Linked DNA regions of Homo sapiens: region 1 is linked to region 2. Evidence: promoter capture Hi-C in human tissues and cell types (Jung and others, 2019). All regions are on one chromosome and are shown on one strand. Each heading gives the region's core, a stretch centred on a gene start or on the middle of the fragment in contact. The rest is flanking DNA. Distances are from core to core; before and after follow the strand shown.

Region 1 (6,388 bases), core at 3,492-5,991, 41 kb after region 2:
TTTTAGCTAGACACAGCCATTGGAATGAAGATTCTGCTTCTCATCCACCCACAGAGCTGGGTGTGGCTATGTGTTAAGTTGTGAGTAGTGGGAAGTGTGGGAGAGTGGTTCTCACCTACCTTTGTCCCTCCGTGCTCCCTTTTCCTTCCTGCAGGCTGGAATGAGGCTGTGAGGCTCCAGCAGCCGTTTTGTGCCACGAGGCAGTAGAAACCTGGGTTCCTGATGACTGTGGAGCTGCCGAACTAATCTGGACCTCCAGATTCCATACCTGCAAGACACATGAACATCTGTCTTATGTAAGCCACTATTACTTTTTTTGTTTGTTTTTTTTTTCCTGTATGGCAGAACATAATCTTAAGGAACACAAAGGCCAAGGGCATCTTTTCCATTCAGGGCTGCAGTTCTCAAACCCAGCCGCACTTCAGAATGCTCGGGCCTCCCAAAGACCAACACATTGAGACTTGCTGGAGGGCGTGGCTGCACATTTGTCGTTTGAAGCTCCCTAGGTGATTCTAGTGTGTAGGAATTGATCTAGGACTGAAAAGGATGTGAAGAGGGCATGTTCCTAAAGAGAGAAGAACCAGGAGAGTGAGCTGTGAAGGCCTGAGGAGGGAATTTGAGTTAAAAAACAGGCGGGCATCAGCACTGAATGCCTTAGTTGGAAGCTGGGGAGGGGGGAAGCCATGGAATTAGGTTATTGAGCTCACTGGTGACTGGGTGAGAGGCATGAGGTCAGGGTCCAGTTTGAAATGGGCTAAGGAGGGGTGAGTGCTTCATAAGAAGCCTGGTAGCCCATCAATGATACACTGGATAAAGAAAATGTGGCACATATACAACTTGGAATACTATGCAGCCATAAAAAAGAATGAGTTCATGTCCTTTGCAGGGACATGGATGAAGCTGGAAACCATCATTCTCAGCAAACTAACACAGGAACAGAAAACCAAACACTGCGTGTTCTCACTCATAAGTGGGAGGTGAACAATGAGAACAAATGGACACAGGGAGGGGAACATCACATACTGGGGCCTGTCGGGGGGTGGGGAGAAGGGAAGGGAGAGCATTAGGACAAATACGTAATGCATGTGGGACTTAAAACCTAGATGATGGGTTGATGACGGGTACAGCAAACCACCATGGCACATGTATACGTATGTAACAAACCTGCACGTTCAGCACATGTATCCCAGAACTTAAAGTAAAATTAAAAAAATAAAGAAGCCTGGTAGTGTAGGAAAGAGAGGTAGGCCACTAGCTTGATGGGACAGTGAGCGCATATTTATACTAATGACTAAATTTCCTTGAGTGATGAAGGGGCAGGCAGCGTGCTAAGCCTTGCCAGGCATCAGCATCTCATTTCACAGTGACCCTTCGTCTGAGTTAGTGGCTGTTATTTCCACTTCACAGATGTAGAGGCTGAAATACAGAGATGGAATGACTGGCTCAAGGTGAATACAGCTGGTAGGTGATGGAGCCTGAACTTGAATCCAGATCTAATTCCATCCTGGGAAGGCCACCTTTAGCCTGGAGGCACCTGGAGCCTGTTTGTTGCTGGAGGTCAAGGGAGAGGTTTTATGTGCAGATCCTCGAGGATGCAGAGGGCGTGGGAACTCAGCTGTAGGCTTGGGCTTGGATGAAAGGAGGGGCCCTTCCTCTCTCTGAGATGGAGGTGAGGATGTGGGGAGTTGTGGAGAGGAGGGAAACTGGGGCCCTCCTGTAGCACCTCCATCTTTCCAGGAGCCAAAGCAGGGTCATGGCAGGGCACAGGGGCAGTAGGGACTGATGAAAGCTTGAACAGCAGGAATTTGTTCTCTGCCAGAGGGCAGGAGAGTTGGCCTATCTCTAGTATTGTACTGAGGCCATGGGACCTTGTGATAGAAGCCTGATTCCAGGCTCTGATAGTGCTAAGCCAAGCAGAGCTGATTATTAAATATCCAAGGACTCCTCTTCTGATAGAGACATAGGTGAGTTCTCTCCCATCCCCTGCCTCCTATCCCCAGGACAGCCTCCTAACAGGATTCTGCTGTGGCTGCAAATGAATTTGCTGTGATCCCAAACTCTTTGATTCCAGCAGCCATCCCTGGAGAGGATCCCTGGAGAGGAGCAAACCCAGGCCATCCGGATTTTCTGCATGGGAGACCTGGCTGACCGCTGCCTGGGCTGCTTTCAAGTCTCACCGAATTATGAAGTCAACTACTGGGTGTTTAGAATGTCTCAAGTTCAAAGACTAGCAGGCTAGAAGCAGACATCTGAGAGAACTTCGGGCACCTTAGCAGGAGGAATATTAAGATGTGGCATGCTGGGCTTATCGGGAGACTGGATAGGGATCAGAAGGAATACATTTCTATTCTGCGAGCTGCAGAGCTCAGGAGTCGTTCTGATATCAGGCCCATTGGTGGGTTTAGCTTTGGTGCAAGTTTCTTGGCCATGGAGCTTAACTAGGAGGAAGTGAATTGCAATCATTTTGGCCTGTGCTCCTTAGAGTCCCAGGGATCAATGGGAGACGAGTGACTGGGTGGGCGGGTAGAGCAAGGAGAACAGGGTGCAGGAGACACTGCCACTTATTTATTTGTTTTTCCTACAAATATTTATTGAGCCTCTAAGTATGTACCAGGCACATTCCAGAAGAGGGACTCAGAGGTCGTTGGAAGTGTATGCCAGGAACCACTGAGCAAGGCCCTTGTCTCTCTTTGTGGGCCTTCTTCAGACACTTCCCCCTCATACACGGGATCTGGGATCATTAAACATCTCATTGTCCTTTGGATTCACCAGCTTTTGAAAGTGCTGCTCCTGCTGGAAAAGCCCTCGCTTCCACTCTTCACCTAGAAAACTTCTATTCATTCATTAAGGCCTGACGTCACGTTTTCTGGGAAGTCTTCCTTGCTTATCCCCTGACAAATTTGATTTTTTGTCAAATTTGTATTATTTATATCTTTGTGTTATTAAATTTCCATCACATTTCAGAGTTTCTGAGTGTTTAAATAACTTAACCTAAGTTCACACAGCTAGTTAGAGTCTCAGCTAGGATTTGAACTTGGAACTTCCTGACACCAAAGCCAATACACTTAACCACTAGATCGCATGGCCACTGAAGTTAGTGGTTCCTTCTCTAGGCTCCCAGGGCCCCAGAGTTTTGTCATGGAACTCATCATTGTTGATTGTCATTATTCATTTGCTGGTGAGATTTCCAGGGGTACGGGCTATATGGAGTCACTATGATGACTCAACATAGAATCGACAGCCCAGATGCTGGTGGGATGATAAGAAAGGCTATTAATGTGCCCAGTACTGGGCTAACCTCTCCATATTCATTGTATCATTGATTACTCATGACAATCCATGAGACAGTCATTACTATTCTTCCCATGTCATATTTGGAACAACTGAGGCTTAGAGAGCTGAAACAATATGTCCAACTCCCACAGCTAGAAGAGGCAGACCTGGGGTTCAAACTCAGGTCTGGCTTATTCCAGAGCCCATGCTTTTAACTGCTATATCACACTCCTTCTCCTCGACGTGTTCTCTGAAACCCTGTAGTGGTGCTGGGGTACAGAGACAAGTGTCACCAAGCTCCTACCTTCAAGGAGCTCACAGTCAAGTGGAGAAGTCAGGCATCCCGGCATCCCAGGCATCCCTGATTATCCTGGTATGAACAGATAATCACAACACAAGCTATAAATGCAGGTAGCCTGGAGAAAGGAGTAAATAATTAGTCAAACAGAGGGAGTGCTAGGGAAAGATTTCAAAGCAGTGGGGATACCTGAACAGGGTTTTGAAAGTTAAATAAGAGTCTTCCAGGAGACAAGGAGGTAGAAGGACACCAGACATACAGAGCAGCATACACGAAGGGAGGGAGGGAAGGAGAGAGAGAGAGAGAGCTGCTGGGTGGTAGGGAAACTCCAAGTGATTAGAAATTTCACCCTTCCTGTCTCTCCTTCCGCAGCTGACTCTGCTAGGAAATGTGGAAAGCTGCAGCTGCAGACAGCTGGCTGTGCCTGCTTCACTGGAGTTCTCAGCTCTCTTACACCTGTCTGTTTAGAAAGGAGCAGACAGGCTGTGAAGCTCTGCAGGATTCTTTTCAGTGCTGGGGCAGAAGGAGAAATGGTGGGGACAGCCACTCTGGGCATCAGAACCGAATACCTGCTCCCCACTCCTCTCAGTTGCACAGCCCAGCTCCTGGCTTCACTGCAGTGGGAAGGGAGATGAAGGACTCTTGAACTCAGAATATGACTGACCAAGACCCTTACAGCTGGGGTGGAGGTAGGGGGCTGAAGGCAGGTTCTGGAGGTGGAGATTGAGTCTTCCAGTTGTTTTCCTGGCAACAGCGGGAACAATAGATTCTAGGTTCTGGCTGGCTCAGGAGTTGGGGTGTCTGACCTGTCTTTCCTCAGTCCCTTCTGCTATAGATACTGATAGTCCTCTGCCACCAGGCTCTGCCTACCAAGTCCCTGAGCTCTTCCTGACCTAGCCTGGCTCTGAGAGGGGAGCCAGCATGGCAGAGGGTGGGCCTGGTACCAGTTGTGTCTCCCTGAATACAGGATCTGAGAGCTGGGGAGCTATGGACACCCAGAGCCCATCAGCCTGGTCTCTCCCCTCACTGTAGGTTCCCAGGCCAGTGGCTGGTTCCTGATTTTACCTAGTCTTCTGCACTGGGATAAGAACCTGACATCCAGCTTCCCCTTTGGGAGTAAGGCCTCTTCCACGGGCTGCTCCTGGTCTGTGTTTTCCACTGCAGTCTGGGAGCCTACTTCCCCCATGAAGGCCCTAACCCCACCCATGAAGACACTACATGAATTACTGTCCAGACTGGACTCCAGATGCAGCCTCGGATTAGACCCAATTTGGCCTCATCTCCTTGGAGCTGTCTAGTAATTTGGAATACACGCTGCTCCCTACTTAGCCACCTGCAAAGCAGGGTCCATCTCCCAGCCTGGTTCTGCCTTTTCCTCAGTCTTATATGTGTGTGTCTGAGTACATGTGTCAGTCAGTGATCATGCCAGGACGGCCAGCTGGACTTGTGTCAGCATGCACATATGTTCCTTGAGGCTGTCCCGTGCAGGCGTGCACTGAGTTCTCAGCCCAGTTCTGAAGCGTGTTTGTGAATATGCCCAGATACATCATGAACATTGCTGGGATGCTAGGAGGGGGATCAGTATGAATGACATTGCATGTCCTCAAGTACACAGGTATGTGTCTACGCACACGCACAAACCTCTCTAATATGTATGTATGCACGTGTACATGTGTATAATATGGCTAAGTGTGTGTCTGGGAGTATTTGACCATGTCTGATGTGAATCTTCTGCCCATTCTGAAAGGAAAGGGGACATGGGCCCACTCTCCCTTTTTGTAGTTACACTGTGGTCAGGGCTGGCTTGTGACAGAGGGAGTCAAGGTGAGTGCCCCTCTGAACTTCTGGGATCTTTCTGCCTAACATTCTGAGACTTCCCCAGCTGTTCCCTAGTCCTGCAGCCTTGGCTGTCAGTACTTCAAGATTATCTGGCCAGGCGTGGTGGCTCATGCCTGTAATCCCAGCATTTTGGGAGGCCGAGGCGGGCAGATCATTTGAAGTCAGGAGTTTGAGACCAGGCCAACATGGTGAGACCCCATCTCTACTAAAAATAAAAAAATTAGCCAGGTGTACTGGCACGTGCCTGTAATCCCAGCTACTTGGGAGGCTGAGGCAGGAGAATCACTTGAATCCAGGAGACAGAGGCTGAAGTGAGTCGAGATTGCACCACTGCACTCCAGCCTGGGTGACAGAGTGACACTTGGTCTCAAAAACAAACGAACAAACAACAAACAAACAAAAAAAAAAAAAAAAAAAGAAAAGAAAAAGATTATCTGGTGCCTTGGCCCAGTCCCCACCCTTCACTTTGGAAAGGGTGTACCTGCAAAAGGTACAAGAGGAAGTCCACACCCCCACATTTAGTCTGGCAATGATGCCAACTATTCAGGACTCGCCTACTGTGGCCTGTGTAGGTCCTCCTCCTCTCCTGCTCATGTCCAGGCCATTGTCTTTAGTGGGACAGGGGGGCCTGAGGGAGGAGCTTCTGACCTGGCTGTTCTGGAGGCCTGGGCTTGCCAGAGGCCTTCAGCTTTGGCAGAGGACTCCGGGCTGTTTGGAGGCACTCCCAAGGCCCCTGTGCTGTGTCAGGGGCAGGAGGTGATGGTGGGGGGTGGGTAGTACGTCCAGAGCTTCCCCTTCCCAACAAATCTGTGGATGGGCAGGGGGTACACTCATGGGGAAATTACCAATTTAAATAGGAAATGCAAGCAATTTGGATAGAACCCCAGGACTGCAGTTTGAGAGCTCATTCTCTGCCCCGTGGGGGTTTGATTACAACCAACTTGGCTGATAACGTGCAGAGAGGGCCAGAAAAATGGT
Region 2 (6,657 bases), core at 2,243-4,742:
GGCCGCACAACCAGAGGGCACCTGGAACCAGCAAATGAGTTGACTTTTATTAAGTTCTGACAGTGGGCCACACACGATGAAGGTGCCCGCATGTGTGTTCTTCTATGAACGCCCTCCTCCCTCCAACCCTGGGCATTGGCCCTCACTATTTCCATTCTAGAAAAGGAAACCGAGCTGCAGAGCAGAGGGGGAACTGGCCCAGTGCCGTCGAGCTGGGGCAGGTGGCTGGAGTTGAGGACTAGGAACTGGCTCCCAGAGCGTCTGAATCCTCTCTCTTGCCTGCCCCTACCTCATGGCTTAGCTCCCCCACTCTCAGGTTGCACCTATGAGAGATGCTAGAGCCTCCCCATCCAGGCCCAACCTGCCAGACCAGTCCAGGCAGCCCCTCACAAGATGGTTTTCTTCACATGGTCTCGGGGGCGGTCTGGTAAGAGAGGAGGATGACTGTCTGAGCCCAGAAAGATGAGGTCACCCGAAAGGAGGTCGTCTTGTTTGCAGGAAGAGGTGGTACCGTGGGGGTGATGACCTGTGCACATGGCTTGAGCTTTCCTTGCTGCCAGGCACTCGTGGCATCTCTTGCTCACCAGGTAGATGAGCTCCACGAGGTTGAGCAGGATGCAGATGGCAGCTGTGGCCACCATGAAGAGGGTGAAAATGTTCTTCTCTGAGGGCTTGGAGATGAAGCAGTCCACTATATTGGGACATGGATCTGCGTGGCACTTGACCACAGGAGGGAGGATATATTTGGGGTAGAATGAGTGGAACACATAGAGAAAGGCGATGTCCACGCTCGCCTTGAACACTAGGCTGCAGACATATGTCCACCAGAGCCCACCCCGCTTCTTGCCGGGGTTCAGGTAGAGGCGCCCACTGTTCTCCCCATGGGCTTCTCGGTGCCTCTTCTCCTGAACCTCCCGGTAGGCCACGTGCATGACCACGAGCAGTGAGGGGCATGTCACCAGGATAAGCTGCAGGGCCCAGAGGCGCACATGGGACACAGGGAAGAACTCATCAAAGCAGACGTTGGAGCAGCCGGGCTGGCGAGTATTGCAGTCGAAGTCCTTGTGGTCATCACTCCACACACGCTCGGCCGTCACCAGGTACACCAGCACGCGGAAGATGAAGACCAGAGACAGCCAGATGCGCCCAAAGGCTGTGGAGTACTTGTTGACCCCACTCAGGAGTCCCTCAAAGATACTCCAGTTCATGGTGGACCCACGCGTCAGCTGCTACTGCAGGGAAACAAGAACAATCATTTCCTACATTTATCACAGACTTGCTCTGAGCACTTTGTAGAAATATGTCATCACATTTCATCCTTACCATCACTAGAGGAGCTGGGTTCTACTACTGTCCCCATTTTGTAGAGGGAGGGAGCTGAGGTTTAGTGGCATTATATACAAGGTTACACAACTATTAGGTGCAGGGCTGGGATTTGAGCATAGGTAATTAAGTCCAGAACCCAGCTCTTACCAATACCAGTGGATAAGGGCAGGTCCAGGGAGCCACTCATTCCTCCCCGGGCCTGAGGCTCTGGTCTTGAGGTTCTGCAGAGTGAAGACTGGTGGAGCTGGGACATTCTGCCTGCTCCCTCTGTTTCAACCCTGGCCCTCCTCCTCAGGGGGGCTGAGCCTTGAGATGGTTCTCTCCTTTCTGAGCACTGCTGCCTCTTCTCAGACAGCCCCTTCCCCAGGGGAACCTGCTCTTTGTCCTTTTCTTGGCTCAGGGATGGGACTGGAAAGGAGGCTGGAACCTTGTCCCCAAGCCCCCATCTGGTCTAACACTCTGTAATTAGCCAGGCAGAGTCCTGCTCAAGTGCCACTCAATGCAATCCAGCTGAAAGCTAAAGCAGGCAGCAATAAATTCTCTTCATACAGTAGGTTTCCTAGAGTAACCTGGTATTCCAGTGTTTCCCAAACAGTGTTCCCTGGAACCCTGTCCCATAGGTTGGCAATAGGAGAAGTGAGAGAAGAGGATTCTGTGTCAAGAAAAGTTGGCAAACATTGGGTTTAGTAAAGTTAAATAGGGTTCTTTTGCTCAACCGTGCTAATAAACTCACTAATAAATTCACCAAAAGAGGTATGAAATATGTGGCATTGCCCAAACTCATTTGCCCACAGAAGCCCTTTTCCTCCTGACATAACATTTATCATCTTGTGGAACAGCCTTGTCAAGACATCAAGTGGGAAATGCTGCTCCTGTCAGTTCTGCTGGTGAATTTGGCCTGATGAACTCACAGAATCAGATTCACCTCCGCGTAAGGACTGTGACTGCTAGGCAGAGTAAGGGGTCCCCACTTCCTCACCCGCGAGTCCTCTGCCTGATTCCTGGAGATGGGGGTGTGTCCATTAAGACCCATGCACTGTGGTTTCAACCAACTGTGCACCCTGGGACCCCAAGGAACCTGTCTGCCTAGCCACTAAAGGGCTCATGATGGCCTTCCCATGCTGGTCCAGGCTGAAGCTCACCAGGCTCTCTGGAGCCTCTGCATGATCAACTGCAAAGCAGAGTAGTGATAACAGCCAATATCCATGAAGCATTCATGCCGTGCCAGGCACCGCTCTAAGTTCTTTGTATGAATCAGTACATTATTCCTTCACAGCAACCTTAGGAAAGGGCATATTTTTTATTCCCAATTTACAGATGAGGAAAGAGGAACACAGAGGGATTAATTAACTTGCTCAACGTCACACAGCTAATAAGTGGCAGAGCTAGGATTTGAACCCAGGCAGGCTGGCTCTAGAGCCCACCCTCCGGGAACTGCCCAGCCTTAGGCCTCAGACCCTTTCCTCAAGTTTCAATGAGCTGCCTGCCTGTTTGTGTGCAGACGGATTCTGTCCTTCCCCTTGTGTGTGGATCCTGGATGAGGGTGGCTGGGGGAACCTTTGCCCACCACCCTGTCTCCACACCACCTGCGCCACTTGGACGGGGGATGGGTGGAGGTGGGGGCCGGGGTTGGGGGGAGCTCTGTTTTGAATCACCATCTTGCATGCTCAGTCCTGTCTAAGGTAGGACTCCTGCAGCTTCTCAGGGAACACCCAGGAAGGCCCCGCCCTTAGCCCCAGGGGCTCTCACCCAGCCCATCCCTACTTGGGGAGGAGTGGGGCAGGGCTTTGCAGGCCCAGGCAGAGCTACCCTGCCTGCTGAGCTTCCGGCCTGGCCCCTGCTCCTACCTTTGCCCGGCTGGGGAGACCTGAAAGAACCCAGAGCCCCTTATTCCTCCACCATCAGGACCCAGGGTGGCAGATGTGTCCAGGCCACATCCCACCACTCCCCAGCAGAGAAGTGTCCTCCTGCCACGTATGCCAAGGGGCAGGGCACATGCGGACACAGATGCCCTTACCTGAGTGACTACTCCTCAGGGCTCTCCTGGCTCCCAGCAGCCGGCAATAGGACTCAGCAAGCAGCTTGAATTTCATATCCAGAAGCGGGGAAGGTTTTCGGGGAAGCCCGTTGAAGCCTGTTTCCAGGACAGAGCCTGCCGGGTGTGCTGGCCCAGCCTGGGAGGAGGAGGAGCTGGGACCTGCACTGCCATTGGCTGGGCCCCAGCCTCCCCAGACTGCTTCTGATGAGGCTCAGGAAACTGAGGGGTTCACTCCTCCCAGGGCGCTGAGCCTCGAATCCTGGTATCCTCTCAGGGGAGAGCCACAGGTCCACTCTGACTCCTTGTTCATCCTCCCATCTGTGGGCTTGTGTGGGAGAAGCTGAGGCCTGAATCCCAGCTCTGCCACTTTCTCACTGTGTGATTTCTTGCCTTCTCTGTGAAAGTGGGAAAAGAACAACACCTACCTCATAGGGTGGATACGTGGATTAACCCAGCCTTAGGGGTGAAGTGCTTAGAACAGTGCCTGACACAAGGGAAGCCCTGTCTACAATTGCCTATAATGCGTGTATACTGCCCAGCACAGGCCTGCCGCATGGTATGTCCTCAAAAAAATGTTTCTTCCTCCTCCTTTTCCTTATTCCTAGGCCTTTTCTTTCTGAGATACAGGGAAGGCAGAGGAGAAGGGAGGGAGAGAGAGACGTATGCACTAGAGAAAATCTCATTTGGATGCATGTTGTCTTTGGGTTAAAAAGGCCAAACCCAAGCCAGGCAGGAACCACAGGAGAGGTGGAGAAGGTGGGCAGGGGCACCTGGGGAAAGCTTCTCATTAGTGCACAGACACGGTCTTTTGGCCTAATTGACTTCCAAGGTGCCCTGTATCAGCAGGTCACTTGGGGTCAGGATTCAACAGACAAAGCATCCAGGAGCCACAAACACCTCATGTCCACAAGCAAACACAATGTAGCTTCACATGAGCATACTCTTACACACAGGCCACAATTATGGGCACAGTGTTGCACACACATGCAGCAGTGGCTTTATTTTATTCACTGCTCTATCCCTTGTGCCTAGTATGGTGCCTGGTGTCTTGTCCAGTTAGGCTTCAATTTATATTTATTGAATGAATGATGTGTGAAATGCACACACCCTGCAGAGAGTCACACATTTCTATACTCCATGCTCTTTCCAAAAAGCTGTTGCCAAGTACAGGAGAGAGGAGGCATATAAAGAGATCAGTTACAACATTGTGAGAAGTCCTAGAAAAGACACAGAGAGAGAAGGGAGTTTTAAGTTCTGCCAGAGGGAGAGCCGGAGAAGGTAACATTTAAGCTGGGTCTTGAAGGATGTATAGGAGTTTACCAAGAAGAGATGCTGAGGAGGGGCCTTTGAGGCAGTGGGCACATAGCGTGCAGAGGACCTTTGTGAAAAATAATGGAAGAGCATTGGAGAGTGGGCTGGGTAGTGGTGGGGACACCACATGGCAAGGAGCCTGGAAGGTCAGCAAAGACCTTCCAGACCATGAAGGACCTGGAATGTCATGCTAAGGAGTTTGAATTTATCTTGGGTGCAGAGGGAGGCATGAGGGAATTCTTTTCTTTTTTCTATTTTTACATTTTGTATTGTGCTGAGGCAGGAAAAAGGAAGAGACATGGTCAGATTGGTACATTTGATTCTCATTATTCAAGGTAGTTATAGTCTATGAGTCACCATGAGCACCAAGTTAGTGAATATTGAAGCATTCTTCCTAGAGGACATATGAGGTTAGGTTCCTGCAAGCTTCTGTTTACAATGTGGTTATCAACTGATCAATACAGAAGTCTGTTTTATGTGTGTTTCTGAAGACACCTTGTTTAATATATATTGTTGACTCATTAATATTGGACTCATAGCCAACACCACTATAACTCATGACTGAATGAAGCTTGTCTAACACACATATTTTTTCCATAAGGCTCATCGTAGCCTTCGTGTGCTTAGAAACACTAGATGGCACTTCAGCACTGTACTCGGGGCCATTTCAAACAGCAAATCCCCAGCAAAAAGCAAGAAATGAGAAAAACATGGCACCAAGTAGACCTCCAATAGAACATGTTTATAGCATTAGAGCTGAAAGGGGAAGGCAGAATGTCACCTTGTTCAGCCACAGCTGGGAACACGTGCATTGGGAGACTCAAATTTTTGCCACTCTGTGCATGTTATAAATGGCCATGAAAGTGTCTTAAGTGTAGATTTTGGCTTAGGAATAAATTGTGGTGAGCTGGAGAATGCACAATACGGAATCTGTGAATAATGAAGATCAACTGTATGTTTAGAAAGCTTCCTCTGTTTGAGAAAAGAGGCTGGAGGGGCTTGTGAGACCGGTATGAAAGTTACTGCAATGATTTAGGCAAGAAATGAGCAAGAGGGTTGGATTTGGGAAATAGCTGGTAAATACAGCTGGCAGCTTTGGGGGACTGACTTGGGGGACTGACTGGATGTAGGATGTGAGGCAGGAGGCTGACCTAGGATGGTTCATAGGTCACTGGTTTTGGTGATTTGATAGGTGATTGGGCCACTGATAGAAATAACCCTATGAGGTAGGAACTCCAATGGCTCCATGTTCCAGATGGGAAAACTGAGGCCCAGAGAGGCTAAGAAACTTGCCTGGGCTTGCACAATCAGTAATCAGGAGAGCTGGGGGTGGAATTCAGGTAGCTGAGCTCCAGAGCCAGTGCTTTTAACACCGTAATGCTTCAACATCTTCATACCCAAGGATTTGGCAACACTGTCGGCTCCTTTATGCTTGATAAACAGAATCATTTACTCATCGTCAAATATTCATTAAGCACCTACTATGTGCCACGTGTTGCGCCTGATAGTGGAAATAAATCAGTAAGCATGGTTCTCATGGTTCAACCTCTGGGCCTGGTCCTCTTGAAGATTACAGTCAAAGGAGGAAATAAGACATTAAACACACACACACACACACACACACACACACACACACACACACCAATAACTCTAAAAATGCAATTGTGATAGAGTCACAAAGGAGAAGCACAGTGCCAAGAAAATGTATAATGGAGAACCAGACCTAGTTTCAGGAAGCAGGGAAAGCCTTTCTGAAAGTGTAAGATTTAAATTGAGGCCTGGAGCTTTCTCCTCTGCCAGTAACCCTCTGCCTGCTTCCTAAAATGCCAGCACTCTCCAGAGCTCTCCTGGATTCTCTTCTCTCAGTGCACTCTCCACAGGCTGTGGCTCCTACCACCAGCTTGGGGCTGAGGACTCCAACTATTGCTGCCACCTCGTGACCCTGGATAGTTCATGTGGCTCTTACTCAGCACACGTAGCAC

The links. The method cuts DNA at HindIII sites, captures the fragments that hold promoters and counts their contacts. A contact is called where the count stands out against the background at its distance.
Region 1: a fragment that was not itself captured here is called in contact with the fragment with the promoter of GJB5 in region 2 in 1 of the 25 tissues and cell types used here (spleen).

The regions. Positions count from the first base shown.
Region 1 is chr1:34,712,176-34,718,563 of GRCh38, reverse strand. LOC105378642 (a long non-coding RNA gene) reads left to right here. Exons shown (of 4, transcript XR_947174.3): 3 at 155-296. Among named protein-coding and RNA genes, the nearest start is that of GJB5, 40 kb to the left of the region's middle. RefSeq lists an enhancer at 1-664. The HindIII fragment of the contact is 8,651 bases long and covers 416-6,388 here.
Region 2 is chr1:34,751,882-34,758,538 of GRCh38, reverse strand. GJB5 (gap junction protein beta 5) reads right to left here and starts at 3,492. Exons shown (of 2, transcript NM_005268.4): 1 at 3,344-3,492; 2 at 27-1,232. The coding sequence starts at 1,208. The coding sequence ends at 387. The HindIII fragment of the contact is 2,696 bases long and covers 1,928-4,623 here.